Regions from separate parts of the Homo sapiens genome. Here region 1 is linked to region 2. Evidence: promoter capture Hi-C in 16 types of primary human blood cells and fetal thymus (Javierre and others, 2016). All regions are on one chromosome and are shown on one strand. Each heading gives the region's core, a stretch centred on a gene start or on the middle of the fragment in contact. The rest is flanking DNA. Distances are from core to core; before and after follow the strand shown. Region 1 overlaps CPA6 (carboxypeptidase A6). Region 2 holds the start of CPA6 (carboxypeptidase A6).

Region 1 (4,465 bases), core at 1,540-4,039, 240 kb after region 2:
CAGAGACCTGGGTTAGTTTGCTGGGGCCGCCATAACAAAGTACCACAGACTTTAACAACTGGAAATTCAGAAGGAGATTCTGGTATAGATTTCCGCCTTTGGCAAATCTGTCTACATTTTTTTTTCCTTAGTTTCTGGGGATCGAAAAAAGTAGCCAGGAGAAATAATAGATGATTTTGGTGACGGTAATATAACTGAAGGTTCCCTGCAGTATTGGAATACGTTGACAATTTATAATTACCCCAGCCCTAGTCAAACTCGTATCCCTCTTGACCATCCCAGATTCTCTCCTAACACAAGGAAGTTAGAAAATTGACATGGAGGTTCATTTGGCTCAAGACTTACTTTAGCAATATTGTAAAATTCTTTAGCCCATACAAGCCTAATCATCTGTAACTTCCTACTTTGAGGGTAAAAAAGAAAGCACTAATACAGATGGTGTTCAGACTAACAACAACCTCCCACTCACATTTTGAGCCACTGCAAGCAGCCATCAGGGACTTAACCAAGCTTTGAGCCACCTCACCTTACCTCGATTTCTAAAATGTTTTCAGTTTTAAAATCAAAAATTGAAACAAAAAAAGCAGTAAGTCAATGATCAATTCCTGATTAAGTGTTTTGTCCATAGTAGGTGCTCAATAAATAACAAATGAGTAAATGAAAAAGAATGTCCTATACCCAGTATGACCCTAAGTTAATTTACTTTCTTCATAGAATGGAAAATATTTCTTTAGGTGATTCAATATAATTTTTTAAAATAATTTTTAAACATTAATATTAAAGGCTTTAAATAACTTTCAGCCTTGAAATTATTTAAAGATGCCATTATATGTTCTTTTAATAGCACTTAAACCATTAAACAACAGGTTCTTTTGGAAAATAAAATATGAAAGCAAAGCTTTTTAGCTACCTGCCAGGCCCAGGAAAATCACTGGGGGGCTTTCTAACATCTTTAAGTAATGCAAATGACTGAAGTGCTTTGCTACTGTGTGAAACTCTAGTTAGTGGAGGCTGGTGAGCATTGAGAAGACAGGCCTGTATTTATCTAACTCACATGTCACATCAAGAACACTAATGACTCTGCCTGGAGCTGGTTCCACAAAGCCTGGAATCCCCGCCCTGGCCTCAGCCTTTAATTTCCAAATGCATTCACTATAATTGGCTGAGCTTCTCTTCTCTTGGCATTCTTGATGCTGGCAGGCAGTGAAATCGCTTTTTCCAACTCTGGGTATTTCTTCAGTTTCCTCTTGAGGACTGTAGCTTCTTTTCCCCTTTCCCTTTTCTCTCTGTCTTGGGTCAGGGGTGCTGGGTAGTGACATGAGCATAGTCTCTTGGTGATGGAAGGGATGTGTGCAGGAAGAAGCAGCAGGAAAAAGAAAGTGGTAAGGGCATGGAAGAGAAGCCTAGGCTCAGTTTTCATGAAGTGACCCTGGACTTAGAATCTCAAGATTGGAATTTGGGTTCACCTTCCAAGTTCAAATTCTGGCTTGGCACTGACCAGTAGAGGGATATTGGTGAGTTCTTAACCCTTTTGAGACTCAGTTTCCCCATTTTATAAATACCAATAACAAGAGAATCTACCACATAGACTATAGGGCTATTAGCTAAGATTATGTACATAAAAGACACAGCACAGTGCCTGGCTGCTGGTAGGTAAGTAGTACTCAGTAAATCTAAGTGCTCGTAGTCATCATTCGGTTGTTGCAGCTGCAAATCAGCAGTAGCTATTGTTACTACTACTATCACTTGAGGATATCTGCCTATAATTTTACATGTTAAATTCATTATACCACTTATTTAACAGTTTTCATTTCCTGAAAAATAACATTTTCCCAACATTTGGTATTTTTAGGAATATTGATCACCACAGTCTTTCTTTACATAGATGCATATGATTTTTTCTGGGTGTTGCCTGATTTTTGCAATATCTCAATTTACTTTTCATCATGTCTGTCATTCCAAATTCAGGGTCCTCATAGAAGATCTTCAGAAAACACTGGAGAAGGGAAGCAGCTTGCACACCCAGAGAAACCGAAGATCCCTCTCTGGATATAATTATGAAGTTTATCACTCCTTAGAAGAAGTATGTAATCAAAAGAGCTTTTTCTGGTTTTTCACAGAGTCATCTTTATCATTTAGGTCTAAGGGAGAAAATTATGTGTTTTATGCTTCTAGGGGAGAAGCATAAAGACAGAGAAGGTACTATGTGAAGAATATATGTAGCTTTTACATGGCCCAGGCACCTTATCTCTTCTATTAAGTCTTTGATGGTATATAAGAAGTATCAAAATAATTTTAATTTCATTTGCTTTACCCATACCACTTTTACATAGGACATAGGAAGCACAATGGAAGAGTGAGGAAATGTTGCTATAATTATCGCTATAATGGCCTTCACTAACAAGCCAAGAAACATAAAGCTAACCAGAGTTTGAGGAAATGATGAATAAAGTGGACCTTACTTGTACCCTCTGCAAAGTTGAGACCTCTCAAAGGCAAAGCTTCATTTGGGGCATCTCTGCACCTTTGAGCATGCTTTTTTATCCTACCTGGAGAACTGACAGCCACCTCATCCACACTGTCACATCCTTTACTATTCACCTGGACAGGTTGTTGTTCTGCAAATCTCAGCTTAAGCAAAAAGGTAGCTGTTCCTATTCTCCCAGATTGGATTAAACCCCTCCTCCACCAACACCTAGTGAATTACATGCCCCCATAGCACAAGGATGTGATACCTATCACAGTTTTTAATTATGTAATTATGTGAGTATTTGATTAATGCCTTTCACCTCTAATAAGCTACAAGTTCCATGAGCGCAGGCCACTTCTTTCTTATTCACCGCTGTAACTCCAGTGGCAGGCAAACAGTGACCTCCAAATACATAGTTGTTGACAGAGGAATAAATGAATGAATCATACATTTTCCATGCTTCCTCTGAATTGAACAAAGGAATGCCAGACATAAAATAAATGAGATGCTGCTCTATTCTTAAGACGGTTTTTGGTTCTCTTGATAACAACTCTCCTTTCAAAATTATCTCCACATATTTCATGTCTAAACATGTTTTGGAAGCTTAAAATTAGAAGCAATAGAAAGGTTTTAGATAACTTTGCACACAGAAGTACTGTTAACATGCACTAGAAAACAGTCAAATTTTACAAATATAATATAGATATGCATAATGTATGTGTATACACACACACACACACACACACATATATCCTGCTCATTAGATTAAATAAGAATAGAAAGAAAAGAATATATGGGTACTTTCCTGAATATATTTAGCTATTTTTTCAGCACTGATCCTTTTATACCATAAAATGGTAGGACACTTTTGTGTTGTTTTTTTACACCTTATAAGGCTTTTAAGTCAGGAATGAAGTACCTTATTCATTCAAATGTATCTTTTCCTGATGACAGATAAGTGTATATGAATGGATCAATGCAAATGTATCACTATCACTGGAGAAATTATTCAGAGTTTGCCCTCTGATATGTAGCTCAGTAAAAGAACCTTTAAATGGAAAAAGATAATGCCTTTTTCTTAGCATTTTCTTTCAGTGGCAAATTGTAATATATGGGACTTTAAGAAACACTTTCAAGTAGTTTGGACAGTTTTCCTAAAGTTGATTTATTTCTTTACCTCTTAAATACTTGTGGAAAATAGAAATAAATTCTGATTTTCAAAAAAACTAGAACACATCAATTTTTTATAAAAATCTGTTACCCGTATATTAATGATATATGGTAGTAGAAGGTATGCTTTAATGGAAGAACTATATAAAGACATAAGCTACTATCTGTAAAGGCAGAAAATTAAATGTAATTTTAAGTATCCCAAAGAAAATTAAAAATAAGAAGTAGGTTTTTTGTTCAATTTTATATTCCATGTGCACTCCTTGAATTCGGAGAACTACTGTTGTCTTTTTGTTTCCTTTTGTTCTCTAAAAGCTCCATTATTTTGAGAGAGTCTAACATAGTTTTTATTTATTTGCTCTTAGATTCAAAATTGGATGCATCATCTGAATAAAACTCACTCAGGCCTCATTCACATGTTCTCTATTGGAAGATCATATGAGGGAAGATCTCTTTTTATTTTAAAGGTAAAAATAAGCAATTGCTGTGTAAATACATAATGTTTACCAAATATCCATCTTTTTCAACTTTAACCTATGGGAAAAGAAATGAAATGATCTTTTATAGAGTCTCATATTTAACATCATCTGATAATCTCAGAAATACTTTCCCTTAGGTTTCTGAACCATATTTCATTTTTGCCATTGGATATTTCAGAGAATACTTTTGCCAACATTTTCAGTTATTGATGCGAAGTATTTGTGAGTTGGTGCTGCCTGAGGTGAACCAATGCAAAACTATTTAAATGTATAAGAAGCTGCTATGGTTTGGGTCTGTGTCCCCACCCAAATCTCACTTCAAATTGTAATTTCCAAAGTTGTGGGA
Region 2 (3,932 bases), core at 312-2,811:
ATCTGTCAAAGGAGTTTTGGTTCAACTCCCCAGGTAGAGAAGATGGGAAAGATTGGGTGCTCTCTCTTCTAACAGGGACTCTGGCTATAGTATTAGAGGGTACAGGAGTTCTTGGCTATGACTCTCCAGGAAGCCTGAAAAGTTTTGTGAGTGTGATGAGGAAATAGTGGCTCACTCTCTGTTTTAGAGCACAACCAGGACTGGGCATGAAAGGTAACAGGAGGCACCCTAGGTGCCTATGCTTATTTAATAGGGCGAGGCACATCCCCTGTAATGGGTTTTGTGGCGTATTGGAATAGGAGCAAGTGGATGCAAATAATAATTTTAAAAAGCTTTCATCATCAACATGGGAAAAAAGAGAAGGAAATGGTTTTCTCCAAGGTTTGCTTGGAAGAAAAAGCAGACCTCATTCTAAAGTGAAGTCTTGCTACTCCAAGTGTGGCTGAAGAGCCAGTGGCACCAGCATCACCTGGAAGCTTCTTTAGAAATGCAGACTCGGCCAGGCGTGGTGGCTCACACCTGTAATCCCAGCACTTCGCAAGGCCGAGACAAGCAGATTGCCTGAGGTCACGAGTTCAAGACCAGCCTGACCGACATGGGGAAACCTCGTCTCTACTAAAAATACAAAAATTAGCTGGGCGTGGTGGTAGGCACCTGTAATCCGAGCTACTCAGGAGGCTGAGGCAGGAGAATCGCTTGAACCTGGGAGGCGGAGGTTGCAGTGAGCCGAGATGGGGACTTGGCACTCCATCCAGCCTGGGCAACAAGAGCGAAACTCTGTCTCAAAAAAGAAAAATAAAAACTCTTAGGCCCCTGTTCCAACCTACGTCAGAGCTGCAGTTTAATGAGATCCCCAGGTGACTTCTATGCATGTGGAGCTCTGAGAAGCCCTGCTCCAGACCAGCATGGTGGTTGAATATTGGAATCACCTAAGGAGCTTTTTAAACCACTGATCCCACCACCACGGTTTCTATTTTCAAGGTCTGGCTCCCTAAATGATTCCAAATGTACAGCCAAGGTGGCAAAGCACTCGAAGGCCTCCTATTCCCCACGAGAACCTCTGAAACAGCAGCAGGTCTGGGTGCTGCTGATGCAGAATGAGTACCAAGATCTCCCTGAAGCCCAATAAAGCCACTGACCACTCCTGTAAGTCAGGAGCAGTGAACTGAAGCCAGCTGTTCGGATCTGGGTGCTATAGGTACCCCCGTGCACGTTCTCATCATGATTGTTCATTGTGCATTTCATTAGGTGGAATCCGTTTAGGAATCTGTCATGGGAGATCAAAAAAACATTAAGCTTGGAATAATCCATGTCTGCTTGTTTAGCCCATCAGACAAATCATTTGCAATTAGGTAGGATCCTCATGCTGAAGAAGATAGAGAAAGAAAGCTTGCACAGAAAAGTTAGAGGCCTCAAGTTGGGAAAGCAAACAAACCAAAAGCAGAGAGGAGTCACCCAAAGGAAGCAGCACCCAGTGAACCCCTGCCGTGAGTCAGCACGAGGGAGGCCCAGCCCTTTCTAGGGGAGCCTGATTAAAGATCAGGCTCAGCTGCTGCTGCTGCTGCTGCTGCTTGTCCCAAGACCAAGTCGTAATAGCAACTTCCCTTCCTCAGCTGCCTGAACTTTTTTTTTCCCTTGTAGCTGGAGAGAAGTGTCACATTTTGCTCACTCTCAACCTTCCTCGCCCACCCCCTTCCCGGAGAACCTGTGCGGTGTGTAGAGGGTGCTGTGAGCCACCTCCAGCCTCGGGTGGCTGCTTAAGTAACTTTCAACTCCTCTCTTCTTAACACTATGAAGTGTCTCGGGAAGCGCAGGGGCCAGGCAGCTGCTTTCCTGCCTCTTTGCTGGCTCTTTTTGAAGATTCTGCAACCGGGGCACAGCCACCTTTATAACAACCGCTATGCTGGGTAAGTGGAGCGACATTCATGCCCTACACAGCTTTGATTTGGATCTGGGGGCTGGTTTGCTCCAGAGTGTGCCTCACTTTTTCTGATTTGGGGGTCTCTGAGTGAATCTGCACACTTTCACGGTCCTCTATATAAAATGTACTCACAGCTCTCTGCTCTTGGCTTTAGCTCACTGAGAGAATGTGGTGGGCTCCAACCTGGCTTTTTATACTTTTTATCATGTGCCAACCTTAGCTGTGGACCCAGGGTTGAATGGGATTCTGTCTTTGGAGTAGCCATGGTCAGTATTTACAGTGTTTGCCTTGGTTGATGCTTGGGGATGCTGTTGTCCTACATGATTTATGACCTGAAAACTAAGCCTTTCTTTACAATTGTATGTAGGAGCGGTGGGTTGAAATTCATCAGTGATTAAGAACTGAGTGTGATTTTTTTTTTGTCTGTGCTTATTAGTCTGTAGAGTGGTTATTAGATTTTTAAATATGAGCAATGCAAATGATTCAACTCAAAATAAGCAGAATAAAAGTAGTCAACTGTAAAATTATGGATAGTTTTTCTGAAGGAAAAACATAGGAGTAAAACAATCAGTTTTGTCCCCCCTCCGTAGGTAAGCATGCTTTCTATATGCCTTTCTTCAGGAGGCAGAGGGCTGGAAGCCGTGTGTTACTATGCACATTCTTATTATCCTGAAGGCTTGCTGTGGTATAGACAGCATGTGATTTGCTCACATATGCAGGGGGTCGTTCTTAGAATCTGGAAATTATGGCTTGCCTGCACTTTAGATCTGGAAAAACCTTAAATACTTCCTCTAGTTCAATTCCTTTTTACAGAGGAGTAAACTCAGTGTCTTACATATTTTTAAATAGGCTACTATCATTCAATAATCACCACCTGAGAAAAGTTTTCATGTAGATCTGGATCATGACAAGGTAGTGTACAGTGTCTTAAAACCAAGTTGTTCTTTTTAGAAATAGTGTAAAAGAGAATTTGTAAGTGTGACCCTGGAAAAGAGAATTGTATTTCTCTTTCTCTCCCAAAGAATCTTGGCACTGCCTTTAGGGTTCCTCTGAATACAGTGCTTACAGAGGAAATTTTGGAAACATGTCCTCAGTTTTAGGGGAGGCAGGATGAGATGGAGGTGTTGGCTGAGGTAGGGGCTATAGATGGCAATATGATCACGGATTTTTCCACCCCAGTATTTCTGGGAGGAACGGAAAGGAGTTAACATCCCAGGGCTGCCTTTTGGCCTGGACATACAAGATCTCAACTTTACCTCCGATAATTTGTGACCCCTTTAGAGATCTGGAAAAAAGAAGCTCATGTTTAAAGACTGATGGTGCAGGCTTGGGTTGTGGGGGACTTAATTCTGACTCTCCTGGCTGATGCCGGGTCAGATGATAAACATAGATCACAGATTTAGACACACGTGTATGACCTAAGACCTCACTCCTCCACTCAGCTGTGGCTCTGTGCATAATTATTTCAGCGTGTGGCACTCCTCCGTGAAAAGTTACCAGGCCTGCTTCAGCTGAGCAGGTGTGCACCCTTCCCTAAGCACCACTTTGAAGAGGAAATGAGGCCAGTGGTGGCACCCTTTTCGTATAGAATTTGTAGCGACTGGAACCCTTCAGGAAAAAGTTTCATTACCTTCTCTGTTTTCAGCAATGGACATAATAATTGCTATTTTCTCTTCAGTTGCTACATAAGTTAATCCCAAGTGTATAAATTACCAGATGTCTAAGAGTAGGAGGGAAGAAAAAGATGAGAGAATGAAAAGAAGTGAGTCTCACTCAACCATTGCAATACAAGCCTAGAGCTTCTTTAAAAGCAAAAATATTTCTGAGCATATTCACTGTTAAAAATGGGGAATTCTACCTTCATTAGACATGTCATTTTCTCATCGCAAAAGACAGAAATGCTGCTCAGCTTTGAGAATGTTTTGCTTTGTTTACTCCAAAACTACTTTCTGCAAGTTTAGCCTTCCGGTGAACAAGAATCTGATGGGAAGACATGGTAGAAGAGTATTTA

Evidence for each region. The method cuts DNA at HindIII sites, captures the fragments that hold promoters and counts their contacts. A CHiCAGO score of 5 or more calls a contact.
Region 1: a fragment that was not itself captured here is called in contact with the fragment with the promoter of CPA6 in region 2 in 1 of 17 cell types (M1 macrophages); the score reaches 6.9 in M1 macrophages.

The regions. Positions count from the first base shown.
Region 1 is chr8:67,509,159-67,513,623 of GRCh38, reverse strand. It overlaps CPA6 (carboxypeptidase A6), which reads left to right. Exons shown (of 11, transcript NM_020361.5): 4 at 1,969-2,083; 5 at 4,006-4,107. Among named protein-coding and RNA genes, the nearest start is that of ARFGEF1-DT, 170 kb to the right of the region's middle. RefSeq lists an enhancer at 712-1,314. The HindIII fragment of the contact is 572 bases long and covers 2,504-3,075 here.
Region 2 is chr8:67,743,989-67,747,920 of GRCh38, reverse strand. It overlaps CPA6 (carboxypeptidase A6), which reads left to right and starts at 1,561. Exons shown (of 11, transcript NM_020361.5): 1 at 1,561-1,907. The coding sequence starts at 1,792. RefSeq lists an enhancer at 1,235-1,735. The HindIII fragment of the contact is 5,003 bases long and covers 1,392-3,932 here.